Linked DNA regions of Homo sapiens: all the other regions are linked to region 4. The links are contacts of gene promoters, found by promoter capture Hi-C in blood cells and fetal thymus (Javierre and others, 2016). All regions are on one chromosome and are shown on one strand. The core of a region is centred on a gene start or on the middle of the fragment in contact, and the rest is flanking DNA. Distances in the headings are between cores, read along the strand shown.

Evidence for each region. Contacts are between HindIII fragments. The CHiCAGO score rates a contact against its expected background, and 5 or more counts as called.
Region 1: a contact is called between a fragment that was not itself captured here and the fragment with the promoter of LINC01426 in region 4, in 3 of 17 cell types (total CD8 T cells, erythroblasts and activated CD4 T cells). The highest score is 6.2, in total CD8 T cells.
Region 2: a contact is called between a fragment that was not itself captured here and the fragment with the promoter of LINC01426 in region 4, in 2 of 17 cell types (M0 macrophages and M2 macrophages). The highest score is 9.3, in M0 macrophages.
Region 3: a fragment that was not itself captured here is called in contact with the fragment with the promoter of LINC01426 in region 4 in 1 of 17 cell types (monocytes); the score reaches 5.1 in monocytes.
Region 5: a fragment that was not itself captured here is called in contact with the fragment with the promoter of LINC01426 in region 4 in 2 of 17 cell types (total CD8 T cells and total CD4 T cells); the score reaches 6.0 in total CD8 T cells.
Region 6: a contact is called between a fragment that was not itself captured here and the fragment with the promoter of LINC01426 in region 4, in 4 of 17 cell types (non-activated CD4 T cells, activated CD4 T cells, naive CD8 T cells and 1 more). The highest score is 7.4, in non-activated CD4 T cells.

The regions. Positions count from the first base shown.
Region 1 is chr21:35,629,800-35,634,525 of GRCh38, forward strand. No RefSeq gene overlaps it. Among named protein-coding and RNA genes, the nearest start is that of MIR802, 89 kb to the right of the region's middle. RefSeq lists an enhancer at 4,179-4,726. The HindIII fragment of the contact is 777 bases long and covers 1,332-2,108 here.
Region 2 is chr21:35,503,072-35,507,420 of GRCh38, forward strand. The region is part of intron 1 of LOC100506403 (a long non-coding RNA gene); the gene reads right to left. Among named protein-coding and RNA genes, the nearest start is that of MIR802, 220 kb to the right of the region's middle. RefSeq lists an enhancer at 3,284-3,873. The HindIII fragment of the contact is 4,746 bases long and covers 633-4,349 here.
Region 3 is chr21:35,665,132-35,669,839 of GRCh38, forward strand. No RefSeq gene overlaps it. Among named protein-coding and RNA genes, the nearest start is that of MIR802, 53 kb to the right of the region's middle. The HindIII fragment of the contact is 1,553 bases long and covers 1,304-2,856 here.
Region 4 is chr21:34,742,831-34,747,896 of GRCh38, forward strand. It overlaps LINC01426 (long intergenic non-protein coding RNA 1426), which reads left to right and starts at 2,995. Exons shown (of 3, transcript NR_038885.1): 1 at 2,995-3,186. It overlaps LOC107985515 (a long non-coding RNA gene), which reads left to right. Exons shown (of 3, transcript XR_001755016.1): 3 at 1-1,108. RefSeq lists enhancers at 2,874-3,375, 3,376-3,875, 4,082-4,376. The HindIII fragment of the contact is 11,220 bases long and covers 1-5,066 here.
Region 5 is chr21:35,420,159-35,424,521 of GRCh38, forward strand. All of the region lies in intron 2 of LOC100506403 (a long non-coding RNA gene), which reads right to left. Among named protein-coding and RNA genes, the nearest start is that of MIR802, 300 kb to the right of the region's middle. The HindIII fragment of the contact is 1,791 bases long and covers 554-2,344 here.
Region 6 is chr21:35,388,020-35,392,363 of GRCh38, forward strand. All of the region lies in intron 2 of LOC100506403 (a long non-coding RNA gene), which reads right to left. Among named protein-coding and RNA genes, the nearest start is that of MIR802, 330 kb to the right of the region's middle. The HindIII fragment of the contact is 392 bases long and covers 1,444-1,835 here.

The DNA.
Region 1 (4,726 bases), core at 470-2,969, 890 kb after region 4:
TCCAGGATAATTTCTCCTTCTCAAGATCCTTAGCTTAATCACATCTGCAAAATCCCAAGTCCCTATTGCCATGCAAGGTAATATACATGGGTTCTCGAGATTAGGTGTAGACATCTTTGACGGCCATTATTCAGCCAATTACAGACACATCATCAGATAAAAATAAGGTGTGCCAAAAATAACTATAATACAAGGCTGGAAGTAAAGATGTTCTAAGAGAAGTACAGATGGAACCACGTGGAAGTGAGAGAGAGGATGAGTCTTTCCCACCAAGAAGGGTCAGGGAAAGCTCTGAGGGCTACAGGACATCATCTGGTTTTGAGAGACTGGAAGAATTCAGAAAGATTAAAACTCAAAACATTAAGTAAAAAAATCGATAGTCAATACTCACCCCTCCCATGAGGCACACACATCCAAAATAAAACAAAACAGCTTTTTAAAAAAGAATGATGTTGGGAGAATTGTGGACTTGTCAGCCGGTAACCAACGGTGCAAATTGATAGTAAGTAAGATGCTCTAATTCTGGAATCAACAGAACAAAATAATCAAGAAATAAGGTATCTTATAAATAAAAAATAAATATAATGGATGGTTTTTATTTTATTTTTAAGAAATATTTCAAACGAATGAAAAAGGGGTAAACCATTTCATAAACAGCCTTGGAGTGGGCAACTGATTAGTGTGTGTGTGTGTGTGTGTGTGTGTGTGTGTGTGTGTGTATATGCGTGTGTGTGTATATATATACACACACATACGCATATGTATGTATATATACACACACACACGCATATGTATGTATATATACACACACATACGCATATGTATGTATATATACACATACATACGCATATGTATGTATATATACACATACATACGCATATGTATGTATATATACACATACATATATATACACATACATATATATGTATATATGTGTGTATACATATATGTATGTGTGTACATATATGTATATATATGTGTGTGTACACATATGTATATATGTGTGTATATATACACACACATACACACACACATATATGCACACATACATATATTTAGATTAGAATCAATCAACAAAATTAGTTCCAAGGGAATTTAAAAATTAAATGTGAAACATCAACATATAAGAAATCAAGAAAAAATAGATATGTTTACCATCACTGGAGGAGGTACAATTTATTAAACTTAGAATAAAAACATTAACATATTTAACTGTGTTATAAATGTAAGCTTCTGTTCTTCCAAAAATAAATAGAAGCAAATTAAAAGGCATTTTATTTGGGGGGAAATAGAGGAGATATTACATAGACAAAGTACTAATATTCTTAAAAAGCTTAATCAGATTGAGTTTTAAAATACTGAAGCCTCAATAGATAAACTGGCAAAGGATGTGAATAGGCAATTTCCAAAAAGGAAACTCTAAACAATCAGCAAATGTGTGGAAAACACTTTCCTTCACCAGCAATCAAAGAATGACACATTAAAATAAAAATGAAGTAACATTTGACCTCTATCAAATTAACCAGATATTTTTTTAGAAAGATCATGATCACCGCCACTGCTGAGGGCACTGTGAAAGGGTACTCTACAATATTGCTAATATTTTGATATAATCCTTTTGGAAAGCAATTTGGCAAAGAGCCTTACGATGTTTATTTTCTCCAATGCAGTACTTACACTTTTGAGAATGGAGCCCAAAATAATCCTGACTATTGAGAGGCATTATTTTTAATAGCAAAAAAATTCAGAAGTAATCTAAATCCCAGACAAAAAAGTAATAGCTACACAAATCCCATATGTTCACTCCATTGGTTATTATTTAACTTTTTAAAAATTATATTTAGAAAGAATGTGCAAATATGGAAAATATATGTCAATGTTAAAAAGCAAGAAAAAATATTGTATTCATAATATTTCTACTTAGATTTTTTGTAAAATAAATATTAGAAGCACATATAAGAAAATACTGTGTTATGTCTGTCTCTAGATAGTGAAACCATGAATGATTATATAAATGTTACATATGCTTTTTAAATTCTCATTTTTTAATTCAAAGGCTTTCTTATCCTTTTGTTGTCATTGTCAAATGCTTACAGTATGTTACATAAAGCTTTATCTAAAACTAAATTTTTTAAATGACCAAAATTAAAGTTTTTCCTTCCATAAGATGTTCAAGAAATAATTTTTTATTTCTTTTTTGTAAATAATAACTGGGTTTTGTATTTACTTTTTTGTTGCTGGTATCTAATAATGCAAGAATTATAGATTTGAGATTTCTCTCAAGAGAAAATCCAGACCTCTTTCCTTCTAAGAAAATTGTTATCTGCTACAGCATTTTAAATCTGCATTGATTATATCACAGCCATCATAAAGTGTTTCTACTTGCTCATAATAGCCCCCATAAACTTTAAGTTTCAAATAAGAAATGATGTGGTTTTGTAAAAAATCTAATCATGCTTTTTGGCAGATGTGTATCTCGAGATAAATGCTAAGTTGATTTCACGATTTTTAAAACACTCCCCAATATTAATATCATCTATGAGTATAATCTTATTAGCAATTAGCTTTTAAACTGTTTGTTCTTTGAAGGTAACATTTGCAAATCATTTGAAGAAATTCATCAAATGACTCCCCACTGTTGGATTTGGCAAAAATGGAGTTTAAAGTTGAGGGAAGGGGCAAGGAATGCAGGATCTAGGGATCTCGCCAATTTGGGAACCAAAAACCAAAAGAGAAATTCAAGAAGGAGGTGCCAAGGCATATCCTGAGTCCTGGATCCTGAATCAGGGAGCCAGTTGGTGTTGAGAACCCAATGGAGCATTCTGTCCTGGAAACCAGACATGGAATACAGCTGAGAATGAGGTTTGCTTGGGGGATTTTAAGAAAAGGAACACACTTTTGTTCCCTGGTGATGTCCAGTCCTGCACCCTCTCCCTTCTGCTGGGCAAGAGCCACCCCGATTGTATCTTCTAAAAGAGTGCTGTGCAGCGAAACTTTCCATCATGGTGGGAATGATCTATATCTGTGCTGTCCAATGAGGAGCCCCGAGCCACCTGTGGCTCAACTTGGAACATGGCTTGTGCAACTGAGAAACTGAATTGAAGGCCGTCTTGGCCACTGAAGGAGCCCCATTCCCACAGAGCAGGAAGGCTGCCCTGGTCAAACATGCTATTGCCTTTAGGATGCAGGGGAGCCTTTGAATAGCTTCTTTCAGTTCTCTTGCCTGGTTTCTAGCTGTGCTGGATCGGGGGGAGGCTGTGGCCTCCTGATCACTATGACATCCTAAACAACATTACCAGGCTTTACCTCACCACAAACACCTCAACATTCTAGAAGAGCAATGACCACCAGTGCTGGAACCAATAGCCATATGTAGCTATTTAACTTTAAATTTAAATAAATTAAATTTAAATAAAATTAAAAATTCAATTTCTCAGTTGCACAAGCCATATTTCAAGTTGAGCCACAGGTGGCTCGGGGCTCCGCATTGGACAGCACAGATACAGACCATTTCCGCCATAATGGAATGTTTCCCTGCACAGCACTCTTGTAGAAGGTACCTGGTCTAGCAGATGCTGAGTGGGCCTAGTTTTCTCCTTTTCTAAGACACAGAAACATAGAGGGTCTGACTTAAAGAACCCCCACGGAAGAGGCCTAAGTGCTGTTAGCATTTAATTAATTAATTAAAATTTGCCTTCAGCCTCCTGTAAGACAGACCCCCTGACTGTGGTCAGCAGTCGCACGCAGACTTTGTCATTTTGCTTACTGACCACACATTCTCATGGATCAATTCTAAATTGGATTATTGTTAGTTTTAAAAGCGCCTGAGCAGCAGAAAGCAGCCACGATGGCAGGCCAAGGGGAGATTGATAGCAGAATAAACAGGGAAAGTGACAAGATCCGAGGCTGAATTGATCACTGTCAGCGCGTCCGTGGTCAGCTGTCTGCCCTTTAGTGCCCAAAGTAAACATCAGAATAATGTTTAGACAAACACATTTGATTTTTGAGGTAATGGGTATGTCAACTAATGACAAACCTTAGAAAGGCCAAAGGGATATCCATTTTTCAGACTTTTTCAACCATTAATCGTTGATTTTGGTAGCAGTGCACTTCTAGGCAGAGCATAGAGGGAACTCTGGCGTGGGTGGGGACCAGGACAAACCTCCCTAGGATTCACCTGACCATCAACATTTTCCTCTATAATAAAATTTTGTTGGAAGCAGAGAGTTCATTCTTTAAAAATGGAAGCTTCACTGGATGCAGAATTTCAGTTGTCTAAAGAAAATCTGCAACAATCTTCTCAATCCTTCAAAGGGACATGGTCCATTAGCACCCACTAGAATTACATGGACCTTGCCTGTTACCAAAAACAAAACAAAGCATGGAAAATTGCTTTATCAGCAGCAGTTTACCATTGAGGAACTTATGCTACTGTTCCAAAAATAAGATATCGTTGGTGAATCACGGGTACCCAAAATTACAATTTGGGTACAATTTATCATTGGCGGGGTCATTTTTAATGCGATTTTTTTTTCTTTACACTACCATCCATTAACTGTGACTTGGGAGGCCAATCAGGATTGATGGCAACTATACTGAGAGCTCCAAAATTAACATGGTTTTTCTGATCGTGTAAGGCATTTTTCTTTTGCCCGCAGAGATGTGGCAGATGAAACCAGACGGGAATGGAATGTGGTCTAGAAATCGGCTTGCCTCTAGAAGGAGC
Region 2 (4,349 bases), core at 1,756-4,255, 760 kb after region 4:
GCAGGCTTTATGCAAAATACTATGTAACTACCTTCTAATTTAATATTGACTTTTCCCCGGGAAATCCAAAGTATTGGAGATTTATCATAAGTGATCTTTTCACTGTCTCTATAGTTTTGCCTTTTCCAGAGTGTCATACAGTTGGAATCATACAGTGTGTAGCCTTTTCAGATTGGCTGTTTTCACTTGGCAAGAAGCATTTAAGATTCCTCCATGTCTTTTGTGGCTTGATAGCTCTTATCTTTTTATTGATGAATAACATTCAATCCTATGGATTATTCCAATATATTTCATCACCTACTGAAAGACATCTTGGTTGCTACACATAAGGATGCTATAGACGTTTGTGTGCAGGGTTTTGTATGGACACAGGTTTTGAGCTCATTTGGGTAAACACCAAGGAGTATCCTTGGTGAGTCTCCTGGTAAAACTATGTTTAGTTCTGTAAGAAACTGTCAAACTGCAAAACGTGGTTTTGATTGCCATTATCATTTTGTCTCCTTTTTTTGGAATAATGATGTTTGAGAGTTAATCCAACCCAACTGGTCGTGTTATACCCACAAAAATAAAGGCTTCAGGGTAGAAGGAAGGGCAGGGGAAAGAGAAAGGAAGAAAGTGCATGTGAGAACATAAGCTTCTCAGGATTTTCAGCCAGTTTGTCAAGGGGGAGGGTTTCCTGTTTTTCTCCTCTGTGTTACAGACCAAACGTTGCTGGTCTCATCATCACAGACAAATTAAAGCAGCTGCCAGCACTGCTGGGAAGTCCTAAACCCAGCAGGCAGCTTCTCAGTTGCAGAGACACCTTTTGACAAATTCGACTCCTCCAGGGCCTGTTTGGAGGGAATGTGTGAGCTGTTCAGCTCTTGGGGCACAGCACATAAACCAGCAACAAGCGTCTTCTCTGCATCGTGGTTGACATGCATTTAACCGGTGAATCTGAACCCACATCTGTTCATCCCCATAACACATGGAACATGCTATGATTGTCAATGCCAAAAACCTGAAGTTCCAAAAAGCAGCTCCTGAGAGTTCCTTTCCTAAACAGTCTGGGGCTAAACCCAAAGCATGTGTCCCTTGGTGAGAGAGGAGGAGTGGGCTATACTCTCAGATATGGGGCCATAATCTTAGAAACTTCCCTGCCTCCCACCTCCACCCTCAGCCGCCAACATTAAACAGGAATAACATCGGAAACCAAAGGAGCCACCCAGACAAAACACAATTTATAATATTTTAATCACTACTGGGCTAGACAAATGTCTTCCAACACAAACTTCCCACACATCCTCCATTCCTTTTATTTTACTCCCACGAATCCATAAAGTTCCTCCATGGAGATATTGCAAAACCTTTGTGCAAACGGGATATAGCTTCCAGCTCTTTGTATGATTTCGTGGGAGCTTTGGTACAAAAGAGTGGTTTAGTATCTTGGAAAGTCTCCTTCCAAAGAGAAATGGGATGACATTGCACATTTAAGGTGTCAATCTAAGACTAATTTGCAAGTGACACCGCTGTACAGAGTATGTCAGTGCTAGAAGCGTAGGAACCTGGGTGGGATCTGCAGCTGGCTTCTGCTGAAGCGAAGTGTGTGTAAATTTGGAGAAAAAGCTCAGGGACTATGCATTTCAGTTCTCTCTTCTCTTGTGAAGGAACTGCCCTAAGTGTTCCTCTGAAGTGTATAATAAACTGAAAAATTTATTTACTTATTTTTATCAGTAGACGTCAAAAAGAAGCCTATCCTTTATATTAGAGTTAAAATTTGTACCTTTCTGTACCTGGAAAAATTCTCCTGATTTTTAAAACAGGTCTCCATACCTTTTATAAGCCACAACAAGGCTTCTTTGGAGGCAAGCCACTGTCTGGTGGTCTCAGACAGAAAGAATTCTTGCAGTAAGCCAGGCAAGCAGTACATATCTAACAACATCTATTCCTCCTCTTCTCCCTAACTTAATTTTTTTTTCTTTTTTTTTTTTTTTTGCCAGGAGCAAGTATCAAAGTATAGAGCCTTCAAAAGTGCTCTGGATTCCATTACAAAGAAAATCATGAATAATGCATCCCCACCTCCTGCTTTTATTTAATCTCAATCAGTGAGAGCTAGAAGTGCATTACTGTGTCCAGCTGCATCCCTGGCTCCGGAGGCTGGAACCTGGGGCTGAGGGACCCACAAGCCCCACAGGTGCTGTGCACCGCAGAGCCAGTTAACCAGCAATCCTGCTCAAGCCCCGGGAGACTGTAGCACCAAGGGCTCAACCCTTCCGGATGTCTGGCTTGCCATGGATGGTTCCTATACCTAGGGAGCTGCAGAACCTACTTTGAAACTGACACAGCCTGTGTATCCCGGGGTTACATCTCCCTTTCTCTGTTTTAATAAAGCTGTATTCCTAATAAAAGGAACAAACAGCCTATCCCACATGCTGAAAGATCATGACGAGAAGTCTGCCCAGTCTGTTATGATTCGATGTCCCATAAGCTAAGTCCCTCTGCACTCGTGCACATTGAGCACGAAATATAGGCAAATTGTTATTTCTGTCCATCAAGAGCAAATTATGATGATAGCTGGCTTTTGAATGTTAGAAACTATAGTGTTTTTCATTTCTGGGAGCACATCTTGTGTGTCACTATGTGCTATGCCTTTATGTTAAATAACATGTTTATGCTGGGATACAAAACAGTACGATGGCCACATAAAAAAGACTTCATAAGGTACATACATATGTCATATATCAACATATTTTAATTAGTGTAAGTTCAACATATAGAAAAAACAGCTACTCTTGGCTGGATGTGGTGACTGACTCCTGTAATCCCAGCACTTCAGGAGGCCAAGGCGGGTGGATCGCTTGAGCGTAGGGGTTCGAGACCAGCCTGGGCAACATGACGAAACCCCCTCTCTATAAAAACAATTAGCCAGGTGTGGTGGTACACGCTTGTAGTCCCAGCCACTCTGGAAGCTGAAGAGAAAGGATCATTTAAGCCCAGAAGGTCAAGGCTGCAGTGAGCCAAGATCACACCACTGCACTCCAGCCTGGGCCCCAGAGTGAGACCCTGTCTCAAAATTAAATAATTAATAAATAAAATAAACAAAAAGAAACAGCTACTTTTTGTAATTTGGAATCAGAAGTTTTATATAAGATAACACTTTTGAAATAATCAGGAATGTAAATTTATGTAAATTTAGCTGGGACTCTGTGTTAACATCTTTTTCGTTGTGCCTATTTTTCATGTTTTGCCATGCTAACATTTGCTATGTGCCCACACACACACGTGCAATTCTTTTCTACTCTATTAGCCTCTGGTTCTGTATGTTTCCATCATTAACTGAAGCATTTGCAGAACGAAATGGAGGTTTAGCACTTTGAGAGTTGTTTTATTTTTACAACCTTGGCAAAGCAAGTGTCATTGATTAAATGTCTGAATTCCAGGAGAGAGAAACTTGGCAGATTTTTGCTAGGATGTTGGACTGGTCCCAACCAAAGTAGAGATTGCAAGCGATGGTTCTTATTTTAATGTATGCTAATAGATATCCTGTGGCTTGTCATTGGGTCTCCAAGGGAAAAACAAAAAGAGTATGTGGTGTATTGGGGAGAAGGATAATAGTCTCTGCGTATAGGGTGGAGGGAGGAGGCATCCTGAAGATGAGCAACTGCTTCATTCATTTTTATCTCTTAGAGTAACATGTGCCTGTGTCAGTCCTTAATAACTCTTGTTCCAGAGTGTCCCCAAATCATTATTCACTTGTTTCACTAGTTTTGGTGAAAAATGATGGATCAAGGCTTCATCCTAGCTTGAGATCATTTTTGGATGCTTTTGCTGTTTTGACACCGGTATGTACAGCTGGATCCAAGGAGATACCACCCTTATATAGTTTCACTGCAGCCCACACTTGGTTTTGATTAATTTATTAACCCAAGATGCCCCTGGGGAGAGGGGGGTTACGGGAAACACCTTGAATTCTTTTGTTTTAACATTTCAGCATTGCTATTCATAGAAACTACCAAGCCTTTAAATCCCCTATCTGTTCTTGCCAGCAAAGTAAAATATGTTTTTAAGTGTTTGAAAACAAGGGAGAGTAAATGTGTTTTAAATGTATCACACACACACACACACACACACACACACACACACACACACACACACACTTTTGCCCATTATTGTTCCTGGTCACTTCTTACATCCAGAGGCTGAGAACTTAGACCTGCCCTCTGACCTCCTAAATTATCAGAGGTGAAACTCCCTTTTAAGCAAGATCTATATCTTGGAGAGTTTCCTCTCCCTCCTTGCATTCCCCAGGCCCATCTTTTCTACAAAGTGCTAGAGTGTCAGTTTTATGGGATGTTGAAACCTTCCCAGTA
Region 3 (4,708 bases), core at 830-3,329, 920 kb after region 4:
CTTGAGGCTCCAGGACCTAACATTGAAACTGGAAGGAAAGGGTCTTGGGGGATGGGTTGAGTTGCCATACTTTTCCTTTTCACAAAAGTCCTTGCAAAGCATATTTCTTTTATTTCATCCTTGGATGGTTGCCTTCAATTCCTTTGTTTCATAAGCTTCTATTCTCCCAAAGAGCCACGACAGCATTGATTTCAACCTATGATTGCCACTGAAATATTAAACCCTATTGATTTGAAACTCAGGATTAGTTGCAAGTTGGATACTCTGCATATTTTGAAGATGGGCAATTTTATTTCTTCTAGTTGAAGAGTAATCACAGCCTCCTGGTATTCTTGTTTTTTGATGTAGAACTTCAAATCTGATTTCTTATTTGGTTCCCTAAAATTGTGAAATGCACTATGTTCACTAACTAATCACTTTACTCTTTCAAATGAAGCCTTCATACTTCTGAGTGTGCCGGTGTGAAAATACACATTCTCTCCATTATCTATACATTGAATACTGTCATGATGATTCCTCCACCTCCCCAAACATCAACAAAAATCTTACTGGCTATAAGTAAAGATATCGTATTCTGAGTAGGCATTCAGTAGAATAACTTTTCTTTTACTAAGCAGAGTTTATCATTAGTTTGATGTCTACTGAAAGCATACCACTACATCTAAGACTCCCATTAGCTTGAAGCTCACCCCAGTACATGGCTACTACTGAAAATTTTTGTCCTAAAATGCCCTCCAAGAATAGAGCATCGGACTGCTGAAATAAAACTTCTCTGGATAACTCAAGACGGGATCTGCAATGGGTTGTCTGAAAACCAAGTTCATCTGAAGATGCAAAAGGCTAAAGACGTGGCGATCAATTGTCTCCCAATTCTTAATTCATAGCTGCATTAATCATAAGCCTCTCCAAAATAAAAACAGTTAAACATTTTGAAACAAAAGACATTTCAAAAAATGTATACACTGGCGAACATTTTTACTTAATAGACATATATCTATAGAATAGCTGTATTCAACTTTAAAAGCTGTTACTCTAGTGTGTACTAAATAGAGCCCAGAAACACAAGGTCCCCTTCCCTCTTGCTTCACCAGAGGTCTCCCCAAACCCTGACCCACATTCCTTACCCCTCCCTAGTGTTCATCCAGGAGGGAGCCCAGTGGCAGAGCCAGCTGTCCCAGTAGCATAGCGGTAGGATGGAGTGAGAGTAAGGCCCTGGGGGAAGCCGCAGCCCCGCAATCCTCAGACTGTATTTTCCTCTGTCTCCCACACCACCATTCTATGACCTTCCTCCTCCTTCACACCAAGCTTTGGCATTACTTCTAAGATAAGATGTCTAGAAAGTGGAGCTGCAGGGGTCCCTTTTGAAATGTAGGTGAGATGTCCTAAGAACCTATTCCCAATTTATTCTTTGATCTATCCCTTCCTTTCTCAAGCAGCACTCAAAAAACCAGTCTGACATCTGCAAGCCATGGCAGACAGAGATATAAACCTGTGATCCTAAGAGTATTCAAGGGAAGTCCTGCTGAACTTAGCCTTTCCCAACAGGCTCACAGATAAAAAATGAGCAGGTGAAGAGCAGACAAGCCCACTCACCGTTGTCTGTGTAGCTATCAACTTGAGCAAATTAACAAAATATTAAATTAAAAGTAATGGCAAAACCCACAATTACTTTTGCACCAACCTAATAACCATTAAATTAAAGAAAGAACTCGGGACTGTAAGCAGTTCATCAAGGAGTCTTACGACATTGGGTTAGAAACACAAAATGCTTGTATTTCTCTAATTACTTCCCCCCGCCCTTTGCTCTGTTGAGTCTTCTTTTTATACTCCTTAATAGTGTCCTGGGTGGATTCCGTACCTTTCTAGTTGTTTAAAATGTGAAAGTGATAAGGCAATTAATGAAGGGCCATTGCAAACCTTCAGTCTCAATCTTGTTTTCAGTCGTACGCCCTCTGTGTAGACTTGAGTAGGACCTTAAATGCTGAAGGGTGGGGCAGTGAGGCAAACTCTGCTTCTGCAATGCCCACTGTCTACTCCCGGTTGAGCTCCTCCAGTTGATAGGAAGGGGCCGTGTCTCTATTCACTTATGTGACCTCTGATGGCATTCTCTCTCAGATGATTGCTGCAGCTGTACTGGCTGGTTGACTTGCAACTTCTCTGAGGGGCAGCATCTAAGCACTGTCTCTCTTATGGGAACAAGTTTGAATTCTCCAGCAGGCTCTGAAGGCTCTGTCATCTCCCTTCCCTATCTCCACCTACTGCACAATTCTGTGACATAGGATTCCTGGTTCTGGCTTGACCTCTCCAACCCCTTCTCCATAGCTCCCTTTACCAGGTGCAAATCCCATAGCCTTCTACTGCTAGGTTCCCTGTGCCCAGTGAACATCCCGCCTTGTTGGGTACGAGCAAGATGACTCAAACCCAGCTGTCATTCCAGGGTGTCCACTGACCCACAGGAAACCCAGCCATCCTTGCCATGTGGTTGGTATGTGGGCTTCCAACCCCTACCCATCCTGCTCCCCGCTCCATTTCCCTCCAATAGGCAAATCAGCAAGTCTATCACCTAAGCCAATGTCCAGCTTGGAAAGGCAAGACTCCCTTCCTTTCCCCCAAGGGCACCCCCAATTTCTTAGTACTGCTTCCCCAGGTATCATCCCACTTGTCTTCATGGTGAGACTTCATTATAAAGACAGGAAGAGGTGATGGGTGGTGGCTGGTGGCAGCATTTTTGGTTCCACGAAGTTCTCTGTGGTGCAGATCTTGATGCCCTCTCTAGAATGTGGGCATTCTTGATGGCTTTTGTTTCAAGTCAAGCCTGTATTTGCTAGTTATGGGACAACCTAAAGAGTCTCACTAAGCTTCTTTGCATTTGTTTCTTAAAGCTTACATCACAGATAATAACAAACAGGGTAGTTAAACAACAGAAGTTTATCCTTTCCAGGTTCTGGAGGCCAGAAGTCTGAAATCAAGCTGTCGGCAGGTCCATGCTCCTTTTGAAGTCTCCAGGAGATGATCCTTCATTGCCTCTTGCAGCTTCTGGTGACCCCAGATATTCTTTGGTTTGCAGGTGCCACACCCACGCTCTGCCCCCATCCTCACATGGCCTCTTCTCTTTGCCTCTGTGTCCTCTCCTTTTCTCATAAGCACACAAGTAACTGAATAGAAGGCCCACCCTAATCCAATACGACCTCATTGTCATCCATTACATCTGCATAAACTCTGTTTGTCATTTATTTGGCAATAAAAGTCATGCAGATTATTGGCTCAGAAAGGTGTCCCTAGATTCTTCAATTACCCTGGACCCAGGAATACCCAGCACCTCACTCCTCAGGCCCTGACTCTCCACTCCCTCCAGCTACCATGTTGTAGGTGCAGGGACCCTGAAGGCCACCCTGGCTTTCACAACCAGCTCCTAGCAGGGGGAGGAGAAGCCTTCTCCTGTCTCTGAAAAGAGAAGCTATTTGTTGAGACACAGTGACATTCTCAGTATATTTTCCCACAAAGTCAGTGTTCCATTGGTCTTACATCTTCTGGCCCTGTTGGTATTACAGGACATGGCTCAGCTGGGCTTTAGTTAGCTGTCCTGGGATCCTGCCCTTCTTTCTTTGAGAAAGAATATTCTAATGCCCAAAACTAACTTCTAAATGTGCCTTTTCATAAGGTGGGGATTCCCTCTATTACTACTATTGGGGAAAGATTTTTTGTATAATAAAGAAATAAACACAGACATGTCCAACTTGACATATCAAGCCAGAGGAGGTGTATTAAAGGTTGAGGAGCTCATATAGGAAAACTATTATTCATCATTTATTCATCATTAAATATAAATTGTCATCAAAAATGTTTTAATATTTTTTATTGTGTATTTTTAAGGTGTACAACAGGATGTTGATATATACATATGTAGTGAAATGATTACCACAGGTAGGCAAATTAACGTATCACCTTTCATAGTATATTTATTCATTTTTGTCTTCAGAGCATCTAAAATATATTCTCTTAGCAATTGTCCAGTATATGATACAATAATTGCCTACAGTCCTCCTGCCGCACATTAGCTCTCTCTCCAGACGTATTCACCCTGCATTAACTACACGTTTGTACCATTTGATTCACATCTCCCCATTTCCACCGTTCTACTGTTTTTATATATTCAACTTTTTCTTAGATTCGTCATATAAGTGAGGTCGTATGGTATTTGTCTTTCTGTACCCAGCTTTTTTCACTGAGCACAATGTCTCCTGGTTCCTTGATGCAGTCACATATGGCAAGATTGCCTTTTTTTATTATTTTAATTTTTGTGGTTACACAGTAGGTGTATATATTTTATATATTTATGGAGTACATGAGATATTTTGATACAGGCATGCAATGCACAATTAACACATCATGGAAAATGGGGTATCCATCCCCTCAAGTATTTATCTTTTGTGTTACAAACAATCCAAGGTTATACTTTCAGTTATTTTTAAATGTACAACTAAATTATTACTGACTATAGTCACCCTGTTCTGCTATCAAATACTAGGTCTTATTCACTCTTTCTATTTTCTTTGTACTCGTTAACCATCTCCACATCCCCCTAAAGATTGCCTTATTTTTAAAGGCTGAATAATATTCTTCATTCATTCATCCATCAATGGACACTTAGGCTGTTTCCATATTTTGGCTATTGTGAATTACGATGCAATGAACATGGGAGTGAAGA
Region 4 (5,066 bases), core at 1,745-4,244:
CCCTTAGAGGGAAACATGAGATTGGGCAACAAGGGTAGTCCTCAAGGTTCTACCTCGAGACTCCAGGACGCTGGACATTGGAAATGAGGCCACACCCTGGAGGAGCATTGTCGGCTAAAGCCAAACACCATTAGCGTCTGAAGGGGATGTGGGACCCATCTAAGGTATCACATCCCTGATCACCCACCATGGGGTCTGCAGCTGGAGAGGGTCCCCCCAGGAGGGGCTGGAGCGGGGAGTTCTCTGCCCTGGGAGGCAGGTCTCCTGGCCCTTCACTGGAGTGATCTCTTCTTTTCTGATGTCAAATCCTGATCTAAAGGGAGGCATCTTCCTTCTTATGGCATGGCCATGTCTCCTGTGTTCCTTCCTCAAGCCAAATCCTTTTCCACGATGCCTTCCCCTCTGAGCCCTGTATAACCCAATAGTGCAAATATTCCCACATCCCCTACCCACAACAGGGGTGAGCACATTGCAAATGTTCCGCCGGCGAATCAGCACCTGCCTGGAGGTGTTCTTGGTGTCTGCGTCCTGCCTCCAGTACAGAGGACCTCAAATCCATGATACTTCACCTGGTGCTCCCCAGGAAAGCCTGGCAGAGGACCTGACGATTCCCAGCAAGACCAAGCACTGCTGTCCAGGGTCAGCCACGGTCACTTCTCTGCAGCTGTCATCCGGGCACAATCTCCAAATATTTCTAGCCATTCAGACGTTCACTATAATCAGAATTAACGCATGTAGAACCAAAGAGCCAGACACATGGGTTCAAACCTGCCCCACCATTTACAGTGAGAGCTTAGTGAGTCACTTAACCTGTGCCTCAGTTTTCTCACCTGTAAAAAGAACATAACAGTAACAATACCATTGAGCTGCTATGCAGTGGATGAGCTTCTATATGAAAGGTGAGTGAAAAGTGTCTGGATGTGGTGGTGTCAACCTTTCCCTGGGGTGGTGGTGGCTGATCTGTGGCACCCCACATGACAATGTCTTTGCCATGGCAGTAGATGCTGTTAAATCAGGCCCTGGGTTTGTCTTGGCTTGACTTGTTTCCATTTTCAATTGAAAATTAAATGTGGATAGACTTCAGCCTGACTCGGTCTGCTCCCTGGACCTTGGCCAGTGAGTTCTGAGTAACTGCAGACAGGGTGTGGTCACCGGGATTTGGTTATTGGATTTTTTTCCCCCTGTGGTTTTGGGCAGGTTGCTCCATGACGGGCAGCTGTATCGTCTTAGAACCGGACTTTCCGGGAGAGCCTTTGGGTCACTCTGGGCGTCAGCTGGAAAGGGCTGCTCTTGGAGCAAGCTCACTGGCCCACAGGAGGAGCTGCCTTCTTGAACTGTCACCCTGAAGCCAACCAAAGTCTGGGCAACGCCAGCTCCAGTGACTGCCGCTCCATCTCCTAGGCAATTTGCATCGCTGTTTCTGTTTGTTAGGCCTTGACCATTCCTTTGTTGTCATCCTGCGCTTCCCTGGCCATAGGCCTTTTCCCAGCCCCACCACGGCATGCCCACCTGTGCTTGGGGAGGGGCGGAGGAAGGAGCCCCAGCCAGCCATGTCCCTGTTTCGTGCTCCAGTGACCACTGCTATGAGGACTTTCCCACTGGCTCAGGCTCAGTTAGTCGAGCTGGTGTGCCCCGCTCTTAGCTGTTCCCCAACTCTCCTAGAGTGTGCTAATTCTGACCCAGCTCTCCCAGGTGGAGGATGCTTTTCAAACATGTCCTTGGGAACCTCTGCAGACCCATTCCCAGCCCATTCTCCATGATTCCAGGCCTGGCCAGGTTGAAAACTTCTGTAAATTAAAACTCAAATAAAGAGAGTATAGCTTGGGCATACCTTTTGCACATGCATATATATGTATGTGTGTGCATGTGTGTGTGTGCATGTATGTGTGTGCATGTATGTGTGTGCATGTGTTGGGATTTTTTATTTTTTAAATTTATATTTATTAAAAAAATTTTTTTTGAAACAAGGTCTTCTTCTGTCTCCCAGGCTGGGCTGCAGTGGTGTGATTATGGCTGACTGCAGCCTCAAACTCCTGGGATCAAGCAACCCTCCCACCTCAGCCTCCCAGAGCACTGGGATTACAGGTTTGAGCCACTGCACCTGGCCTATTTAAAAAGTTTGTCTAGAGCAAAAAGTCCCTAGACCTGCCAGTCCAGGGCACTAAATCACAAGAACACCAAGGCCAAACAGGCTTGAAGTCTCCAGGCTCCTCACTGGCAAACTCTACTTCCTGATCCCTTAGTGGGTTGAGGTGCCAACAGCCCCCTGGGGAGGAGGGGGTTGCATTATGGCCGTGGAGAGACTCTGAGCCTTATCAACGGTGTGGGGATGACACCCTTTTCGGAGCACTTTGTGAGGCTTTGTGCCATGCTGGGCGCTTGGCGTCAGAGACAAATAGAATCAATAACTGTGCAAAAAAAGTTGCCAGATAATTTATCCCATTGGCACCGAGCCTAGAATTATAATCAGATCTTGACTTCTTCAAAGCCTTCTTGCTTTGGATTTTCCAAATCGAAAATAAATATTGGGGGCAATTACCTTTCCTTAGTTCTCTGATGTATGAAGGGGAGTTTTCATCTATTAATTTAAGAACCCTCTCATTTCATTCGGAAGGTATTAGCCCATGGAACTTGTTAACTTAATATCAACACAGTCTGTCTAGGTTTTGACTGAAAAGAGAAAGGGGTTGTTATGCTCTAGGTTAATATTTTCCTCTCTTTAAGAAGTCTTGGGTATGCCAGACACTTCTCGGACAAAAACAGCTGTTTTCTTCCCATTGCTGAACGCATTGTTTGTGCGAGTTCACTTACTTGCTATACTCAGAATATCCTCCAGGAGTCAGCAAATCCCAACCTCTGGACGTGGCTCAGGGCCGCCCTGCCCATTGCTGAGCTGATTTGGAATTTGGGCCTGAGAGAGGAAGTGATTATTGGATGACAGGCTGCCTCCTAGGGGGCTTCTCTGGGCTTGCCATGAAAGCACTTCCGGAGGAAAAGCAGAGCTCCATCAGTCTCTTTTGGAGAGCTGTGAACGTGACCAGACCTATTAATTACTTAACTGAGGTGCTGAACTTTGAAAATGAAAGTTCCGGTGGGGAGTTCTGTCCTTTCCAGCCTGGGGAGCTCTGTCAGGGCTCTCCTGAGCGTCTCTTTCAGCTTATCAAGCTCGCTCGGGGACCGTCTCTGGTAAGTACAGGCAACCCCTCCAGCCAACCCCTCCACCCTGTGGGCCGGGGAAGTGTCTCATCGTTGAATCCACTTGCAGGCACTTCCTTGATCTCAAGCCCCACCACGCTGCCCCCAGAGTCCCAGCGAGTGGCTCAGTCACACTGGTGCGTGCCTCTCACCCGCTCTGACCTCGTCATGGGGTCCCCGAGGTGCTGGTTCATGCAAGGCTCTGTGCCTAACCAAGCTAAACACGGTGGGGCTGGGAGCAGAGGCTCACACCTGTAATCCCAGCACTTTGGGAGGCCAAGGCAGGTGGATCACCTGAGGTCAGGAGTTTGAGACCAGCCTGACCAACATGGTAAAACCCCGACTCTACTGAAAATACAAAAATTAGCCAGGCGTGACATCATGCGCCTGTAATCCCAGCTACTCGGGAGGCTGAGGCAGGAGAATCGCTTGAACCTGGGAGGCGGATGTTGTGGTGAGCCAAGGTCGTGCCACTGTACTCCAGCCTGGGTGACAGAGGGAGACTCCATCTCAAAAATAAATAAATAAACAAACTGGTACAGTGCCCTAGTGGCTTTGTGGCTCTGGCTGGGGGAGGAGGGTGGGTTGCATAACTGAGCAGCACCTCCAAGCACGATACCAACACTGCCCAGGGCCTGGCAGAGTCTACAGCTGGTCCTTATCCATGAAACTGGGGGTGAGGGGACGGGGACTGGCGGGGGGACAAATCACCTGCACAAGTGGAACAAAGATACAGGAGATAATGACAGCAAATGGAACGTAGAGTTGATGCGTTCATTGACAAAGAATTTCACACCCTGCATTATCTCACTTGAGCCCCATGAAGAGCCTGTGAGGTGGCTAGGGATGTGGAAGGAGTAGATAGGAGAGGCACAGAACAGGGGAAGGAAGGAGTGGGGCTGGGAGTGAGGACCAGGAAGGCAGAGCTGGCCCCTGGACAGGAAGAAAGCCCAACTGCCTCCCTCCCTCCCATCTGCCCTCCTGCCTGCCCTTTTCCAATAAGATGGAAATGCTGAAGGGGTTAAAAAGACAGCATTCTAAAAGCTGAGATCCTAAAATTGTGACCTCCCCTGTGATCTTAGCCTTCGTGTCAACAGCATTGAAAATGAACCTTGGTCGGGCACGGTGGCTCACGCCTGTGATCCCAGCACTTTGGGAGGCCGAGGCGAGTGGATCACCTGAGGTCAGGAGTTCAAGGCCAGCCTGGCCAACATGGTGAAACTCTGTCTCTACTTAAAAAAAAAAAAAATTGCCGGGCATGGTGGTGGATACCTGTAATCCCAGCTACTTGGGAGGCTGAGGCAGGATAATTCCTTGAACCCAGGAGGCAGAGGTTGCAGTGAGCTAAGATTGTGCCACTGCACTCCAGCCTGGGCAACAAGAGTGAAACTCTGTCTCAAAAAAAAAAAAAAAGGCAAAAAGAAAATGAACCCCTGGGAAAGTAGGCCTTGACCACTCTGCTGCTCTTATGGAGTTCATTCTTGGAGATGTCGTGAATAGATCTCCTTTGCATCCAGATGGAAGAGCAACAGGAACATTATTAAGAAACTAAAAATTCTAGATTCATTGGAAAAGGCTTTGAGAGAGAAGGGACAGGGAAACCCCTAATTCCACCTCCCTGAAAACAGTGTGTTTTCCTCTCCTACACCAGGGCCGTGTGTCTTTCTGTCTACGTGGCCCAGCCACATTTGTAGCCCGTGGCCTGATGGAGCTCTGATGAGTCAGTTTCATGTCATTTTTTTTTTTTTTTTTCAGAGAGAGAGTCTCACTCTGTCACCCAGGCTGGAGTGCAGTGGCATGATCTCGGCTCACTGCAACCTCCGCCTCCTGGGTTCAAGTGATTCTCCTGCCACAGCCCCTTGAGTAGTTGA
Region 5 (4,363 bases), core at 199-2,698, 680 kb after region 4:
GGATCTCAATCTTCTTCTCTTAAGGCCTTCAGCTGATTGGATGAGGCCCACCCATGTTATGGCAGGTAATACACTTTACTAAAAGTCTACAATTTAAAGTTTAATCATAGCTAAAAAATAGCTTCACAGTAACATGTAGACTGGTGTTTAAGCAAACACTGTGCACCATGGCCTACCCGGGCAACACATGAAATTAACCAACAATAACCATGAAATTAAATGTAACCATTACAGTTTAGCCACAGTAATTTCTATAACCAGCTTCTGATTGATACAGATTTTTCCTTATTTTTCCATTATCATGAATAATGATACATACAAATAAAAACATTATTTTATATGATAAATGATGATATAGATTTTATATCCATATATGACATGATACTGTTACATGATAATATTGTATTATTTTAACATGATAATATAGATATTTCTGTTGCATACATTCAACAAAGTGGACCTGCTGCTCAGAAGGTATGTGCACTTAACAAATCATAATGGATACTGTCAAACTGCCTCCCACAAAGCTTCATTCCACAACAGCATGTGAGAAAGCTTGTTTCCCTACATGCTCTTGGACACTGGGTATTTCCAAGAATCACAATATTTGCCAATACACTTTTCATGAGCATAGCCAAGGGAAGTGGGTAGAAATGGGAGCAAGAGCAGTAGTGGCTGGAGCAGGCGGGCCCTGGGACTTTCTCCACACAGCAAGCATGCTGCCCACCATGAGACATTAGAATGATTCACCAAGGCAGTCAATGTCTTAAAAACGAGAAGCACAAAAGAAAGGCATTATGTCACTCAGGGAACATTGGCACAATTTTCTTTCTTGAGATCCCAGCTGATCCTGCCTCATCCTTCTGCAGAAATTACAAAAGGAGTCACCCCAGGGGGATTCTCCTTCAAAATGTTCTTTCAAGGACACTTTTCGAAGAGGAAGGGAACTGGATTAGACCACTCTTGCATTTCTACACAGACATACAAGATGGGAAATTTATAAAGAAAAAGAGGTTTAATTGGCTCAGGGTTCTGCAGGCTGTACAGGAAGCATGGTGCTGGCAGCTGCTCGGCTTCTGGGGAGACCCCAGGGAGCTTTTACTAATGGCGGAGAGCAAAGCGGGACACTTTGGTATCCCATGGCCAGAGAGGAAGCAAGAGAGAAAGGAGGGGGATCTAAGTTCCTTGAAACAACCAGCTCTCATGTGAACTAAGCAAGAACTCACTCATCATCAAGAGGATGACGCTAAGCCATTCATGAGGGATCTACCCCCATGACCCAATCGCCTCCCACCAAACCCCACCTCCAACATTGGGAATCATATTGCAACATGAGATCTGGAGAGGACAAACATTCAAGCCACATCAGGAACCTGCCTGAGCTGCTGGGAACTCACCCTCATCTACCCTCTAGCCAGAAGCTCCATGTGGCAGGCACTGTTCACACACTCTATGTGCATTGACCTAAATGAGTTAAGTAGAATGTTTCTAACATTTTAGAGATGAGGAAACTGAGGCACAAGGTATTCAGGTATTGACTACGATCATACAATTGAAAAATTGAGAAGCCAAAATTCAAACCTATATGGATTGACCTGGGGCCTGTGTGAGAGGTTCCACTTACATCTATGTAAGGTTTCAATTGAAGAAAGGGCTCAAAGGCAAGAAACATGAGCAAACTGCTGCTCTCAGTGGCGCCAGAAGTGACACCCTCGGACTAGGAATTTGAAGAAAAGCTCCAGAGTAACATGCCAGGTACACACACATGCACACAGGTGCATGCTGGTTCATGAAAGCACCCATACTTTTCCCACTCAAACTGCCATAGCATCCAAAGTCTACCATTAGAAATTCATGCCTATTCTTCACTACCCTTTCTTCTTTTAAAATTCAAATTCCACATCATGTCAGATTACAGCAATCATCAGTTTATTTGATCCCTGTGAGAAGATGATCAGATTCAAACTTAGGGATAAAAAGCAGGAGGGTGCTGGGTGAACTTAGAAGGGATGGTGCTAAGAGAAACATGGAGTGCTAAAAGAAGACCCACAGATGCATTCCACCACTTTCTGGAGTGTTCAGACCTGTCTGAGGATGTCTGGCAGAATGGTGGGGTGCAGCTGCCTGGAGTCAATTTGCATGCAGGACCCAGGAACATTCTGGAAAAAAGCATGTGCAGATGTAATACAAAGGTAAGCAGATAAGGCTGGCTTGACCAAGTGCCTGCTTCCTGAACTTTCTGAATGTAGCAGGGTCTGTTTTCACTACAGATTTCCTAAGACATCTGTGCGTAGGTCCTGCCTTGATGATCCTCTCATGGCACACAGTGACCAAGTGGGAGAGAAGCTTCTCCACACTTAAGAAGGCACCTTGGGTGGAGAGAACTCCAGAAAACAGACTAGCCTCATCACCCCAAGACCCAGAGATGCTGTAGAGTGCTGGTGTGCCAGTGGTCATGGGCAGAAGGAACCAGGGCACGAGTGCTGGTGCCCAGGAGAGCCAGGGTACCTAGGAGAAGAGGCAGAGGTCCTCTGTGAACAGGCTGGTGGTAACAGAAAGCAGTGTTTGATGGGTGTATTTGAGAGCACCATCATTCACTAGTAAATACTTGCTCAGAAATATGTGAGGGAGACTTAAACTGAGAACTAGAGATGAGGAGGTGAGGTAATGTCATCTAGGGGAGGTGACAGCAAAATGTGGAAAATAATTTTCCTATTATTATGAGTGAATTGTGTCCCCCATGTCCCAAGGTTTGTATGTTGAAGCTTAGTACCCCAGAAAGTGGCCTTACTTTGAAATAAGATCATTGCAGATATAATTAGTTAAGATGAGATCATACTGGCTTAGATCTACGCCAAAATGACTGATGTCCTTATAAAAAGAGGAAATTTGGTGGATGCAGTGGCTCTTTCCTGTAATCCTAGCTCTTTGGGAGGCCAAGGTAGGCAGACTGCTTGAGCCCAAGAGTTCAAGACCAGCCTGGGTAACATTGCAAGACCCTGATTCTACGAAAAATGCAAAAAATTATCTGGGCATGATGGCACATGCCTGTAGTCCTACCTACTTAGGAGGCTGAGGTGGGAGAATTGCTTGAGCCCAGAAGGTCAAGGCTGCATTGAGCCATGATTGTGCTACTGGCATTTCAACCTGGGTGACAAAGCAAGACCGTGTCTTTTTAAAAAGAAAAAAAATGGAAACATAGACATGCACACAGGGAGAACACCATGTGAAGATGAAGGCAGATATCTGGGTGATGCTTCATAAGCCAAAGTAATGCCAGGTTGCCAGAAATCCACCAGAGTCTAGGAGAGAGGCACACAAGATTCAGCCTACAGCTTCAGAAGAAACCTTCCCTGCTGACACCTTGATCTCAGTCTTCCAGCCTTCAGAGCTAAGAGATAATCAATTTATGTTGTTTAATGCAACCCAATTTGTGGGACTTTGTTACAGCAGCCCTGGGAAATGAACACAATGAGGAATGTAGCTGCATTTGTACCCACAGGCCAATGTGACCTGGGTCAGCCAACATCTGCAACTAGAAGCTCACCTTGAAAATCGATGCTCCTTAAACTCATCACCAGGACCTGATTATGATACAGTCAGCCAACTAATTACTGCCAAGAATAAGAAATAAAAGTTTTCTGTTTCCACCAGAGTAAGAAGGTCCAGCTGTTCCATTAGGAGCAGTGATTAATCCAGTTTTGAAGAGCTGGGTATTTCCTGTTGAGCTAGGTCTTTCCTCTGGGGAAATTCTTATTTTTCACAACCAAGGAAGAAAGTCTTATTCACTATATGGCAGGAACTCAAGAAACATGGTATTGAGGATGTTGATGACAGAGATGATGGGAGTAGTAGTGGTAAAAATAGAAATTAGCCATTTCTTCAATAATCTTCACTATAAGAGTTGGATGGAGCACAACCATCTTCCATGGAAGTTGTTCCTGTTTTCTCATTTCACCTTCTGACATCACTTGTAAAATGTATATTAAGACAGCAGCATACTATTTTTTGAAATGAGACACTTAAAATACCCTGAATCAAGTAAAAATATGAAAATCTTTAAATTAATAATAAGGACTTGCTGGCCTTCAGAACATTCATTTGAGCTATTTTTGATATGTGAGAAAGTTGTGCAATCTCGTCTCTTGTAATGTGACTTTCACTAGTGTATTAGAGAATATGTTATTCCAATTTGCAAAAATTATGTAACCAAGAATTTATTTGCTGTCTTTCATATGCCAAGCAGTGTGTAATGGAGAATAAAGAAACTCAATACGTGGTTTCCGCTCTGAAGGACCTTACTTGTTAAGCAGGGCAAGACCTTAAGACAAGAAGCAATAATGGGTGAATAAGGTGAGGTGAT
Region 6 (4,344 bases), core at 390-2,889, 640 kb after region 4:
TCTCATCTTGCTTTTATTTTCACAGGCTATATCTGCTATATGTAGAATTCTATGTTAATCTTGTTGTTGCTTCTTCAGCATTGTAGAGATATTATTCCATTGTCTCCTGGTTTATACTGTTTTTGCAAGAAGCCTAAAATAATTCTTATCATTCTTCCTGTGTATCTAATTTGGTTTTTTTCCTCTGGATGCTTTAAATTTTCTCTTTAGTTTTTATCAATTTTATTATAATGCTCCTAAAAATTACTTTGTTTTGTATTTTTTTGTCTGGGATTATTTGAGCTTCTTGAATCTGCAGATTGACATTTTTAGTCAAATTTGGAAATGACTTGATCTTTTATCCTTCCTTTTTTTCTTATCTTCTCCAACCTCTCTCCTTATTTTTTAGGATTTCAATTATAAATATATTAGATCACCTGATATTGTGCCACAGGTCACTGAAGCTCTCATCATATTTTTTCAATCTCCTCCTCTCCTTCTCCTTCTCCTCCATCTCAGTGTTTCAGTTTGGGTGGTTTCCATGGACCTCTATGTTAATTCACCCTTTTTTTTCGTACTGCATTTTCCAATCCCCATTAAGGCCATCCTGGGAAATTTCTATTTCTGCTATTTTATTTTTAAGTTATAGAAATTTTATCTTGTTCTTTTTGATAGTTTTCATTTATCAGCTGGTAGTTCCCACCTGTTCATTCATTATGTTGATATTTTCCTTTAAAATTGGAACTTCAACTTTGGTTCATTAGCACCCCAACATCTCTTAATACTATGTGTCCTCAGGATTCTCCATTCTCACAGTCCCTAGCAACTATATTCTGCCTGGCCTCATGGAGTCTTATCTGCCCATACAGAGCTTAGTATGTCACTCAAAACTCCAGGGAATCCCTATGCTGATATATAGAACTCCTTCTCTGTGAGGTTCCCCTCTATCTAGTGCCTCAACCAACAAACTCAGTTACTAATGCTGATCCAGCCTCTGGTCTGTTTCCCCCGCCCAGTGTTGGTTCTGCTTCCTTGTGTCACAGGTTGGAAAGCATACCCAGGCAAAAGACTGAGTTGAATGTGGGGTTCACTTTATGTGTCTCCCTTCTTTTGAGGAGCACAGCCTTGCATTAACTGTAGAGTTTAATATCTGAAAATAGTTGCCTCAGGTATTTTCCTTACTTTCATGAATTGGCAACTATGTCTAAAACTCATTAATTCATCACGGCTGCAACTGGACATCTCATTTAGCATTTTATTAATAGTAGTGTAGCTAAAAGGTTATCTATAAATATTCTACTTCATTCAGCTTTTTATTGTAGTAGGTTTCTTTAATTTGGTATTCCAAAGACAATATGATCCTTAAGCTTTCAAATACCATTGTATAGAACAAATGTTTATCAAATGGTCATAAAATAAATTAATGAACAAAAGTAAATGTAATTTTGTTTTGTTATTTCTAAAAGCTTTTCACTTTTCATTATTTCCCAACTGAATTTGCATTTTTAGGTTTGCTTTCTCCTTAGCTTAATCTGTTTCTGTTCTGTTTCTCCTGGTGGAGGCTGGGATAAGGATGTAAGGTCAACACTCATAGAGTTTCCAGTCTAGAGACATAAAGGGGCCAATTAAAACAATAAGAATATAGTCTGTATCAGTGGGACCACTGAATGAGACCTTATCTCTAAATAATAATAATATTTTTTAAAGTATTTGTAAGAGAATCTTATCACTTAATACAGTGAACACTAAACATACAATGAACACTTAACAAATGTATAAAAGATTGGTCTTTTGCTCCTATTTTAGTTTTAAAACTCAGTTATTGGAAAAGGCATAAGTTAACTAAGGAAAATCAAAGCTTTGTTTTACTTGTATTTTGCATGCTACATGGAAATTGTCACAATAAGAAAATATTTATGAGATTAAATTGACTTAAGAGCAAAGATACATTGTTTTTTAAGTACCCTATCAAGTTATTTTCAGAATATAGACTGGGAATATGCCCTGGAAAAACATCCAACTATTTAAACCTACAGTAATTTACATTGATTTCTGTTGCCAGCTATTGCTGCTCAATGCTCAACATTACATCCTGTGTTGAGGTGAGTAAGGTAATGAAGCATTAAGTCAGGCCTGGACTGAAGAACAGGCCCCATTTTGGCTGCATGCCCATGAATGAACATATGTTAGGGCACAGCCAAACTGGCAGTGTCTGGCATTTCTTCCTGGCGGTCGCCACAGCTGACCTTTTTTTTTTTTTTTTTTTGTAATACTGTGAATGTGTGCGTGTTCCAATAACTCAGCTTAAGTTACGCCTTGGAGATGCAAGACAGATCTTTGGCTTGTCTCTAGCTGAGCTTTCCCTTCAAAATTTCTGGCATGCTTTAGAATGAAGACTTAGACATAATTTGAGACACATCTTTTATTAGGACCCAACCATGAGTTGGTCAAATATAATAAACTTCCTTCTCCCACAGATAGTAAATGGATCTTCAACTCTACTAGCACATTTACCAGTCTGATGAGACATGTTTTAAATTTTCCAGGAGAAGGGACCTCTATCTATCAGGCAGCTGTCCTGGGAGCTCTGCCCTGACTCATAAGTACCACGAAACTTACTAAACTCACAGCCTCTCAGAGAGGTTTCCATAAACTGACCTACTTTTTTCAGCAGTCATTTCACAGAAATACTAATGTTTAGGTGGTGATTTTGTATTGTCATCTAGGTGGACATTTATAAATATATTTTCAATTGTAGGATAAGACCAGGCTCAAGAATAAAGTTGATCAGCTTCCAGCATGTTCCTAAATGTCTAGACATTCACACTTCTTTGTAAAGAAATCCTTTATATTAAAAAAAGTAAGACATAGAAGCCCAATAGGCAGGAGAAGAGAATGATTCTTTTGGGAACCAAAGGATCCAGAAACTTTAATGTCTTCTTTTCTCGTCCACAGATGGTTACAAACACAATTGTAAAGAAAATTGATTTCCAGTGGCATCTGTCTCCTACTTCCAGGCCCCTTTCCTCATGCATTGGTTCTGTTTCCCAACTACCTCTTCCATCTTCCCTTCAGGCAACCTCTGTATTGCCATGCTCCCTTATCTTTTATCAAAACCTTTTCTTAGACAAGGTCATTATATCAGTCATTCACACCTTAGTATGAACTAAAGTAGATGTCTTACCTTGATAATTATATTGTACACCACCTTCCTCCACTAGAAGGAATTTCTACTATCGGAGTATAAAGAGTTATTTAAGATAAAGGAGGAATTTCTTAGCACCACTGAACCTGAAAACTTACTCTCCTAATACATAAGACCATCTCTGGACTACCCTAACCATTTACTCTTGTATTCAATCTCTTGGCCAATACTTAGGATAAAATTAATTCTGGGACAACAGTCTTGAGCATGATGAATATGGTATTTGCCACAGGGGTTCAGAGGAGGAAGACAGCCCTTCTGGTTGAAAAAATCCTGGAATTCTTTATGGAGGAAGTAAGATTAGTACTGAACCTTGAAATGTACATCCTAGAATCTCCCTCTGTTTCTGCAGCTGTAAAATGTTTGTGGTGAGATTTGACTAGAACAAGGTGCCTAGAAGAACCTGACCAAGACGCTCTACTGGTTGACTGCTGGAGTTTGGAATTTGTAGAGAAGATAGAATTACAGGTAAATTTTGGCCTCACTGTGTCATTTTTAGAGGCCACCTTCAAAATATCCAGCTAAGTGCACGTTTTTCTCCTGTTGTTCCATGTGCACCAATCAACATTTCCTTTGGGGTAAATCCCCTTAAGGCTACCTCTGGGAACTGGGAGAGGCTGTGTAGCCCTCTCTCATTGATTCATCCCTAGACCTGATCCCATAGTTGATGGGCAGACAGTAGCCTGAGAGATGCTAAGAGTTGGGAAAGGTAAATAAAGTAACAAAGAGACAGATGATGACAATGTAAAAGCCAGTGCAGACAACGTACGCACATCTATTTATCACATTTTTATTGAGTGTCTCTATGCTGCATGCTGGTGTGATAGTATCTGTTGTGGGTTGAATTGTCATGGGTTCAACAAAATTCATATGTTGAAAGTCTAACCCCCAGTACCTCAGAATGTGACTAATTTAGAAATGGGGCGATTATAGATGTAATTAGTCCAGATGAGGTCTTGCGACTGGCCCCTAATTCAGTATGACTTATAAAACGGGGAAATTTGAACACAGAAACACACACACTCAGGGAGAATGCCACATGAAGATGAAGACAGAGATGGGGTGATATGTCTAGAATCCAAGAAACACAAAAGATTGCCAGCAGCCTTCAGAAGCTAGGAAAGAGCCTGGAACACATTCTCCCTCACAGCCTTAGAAGG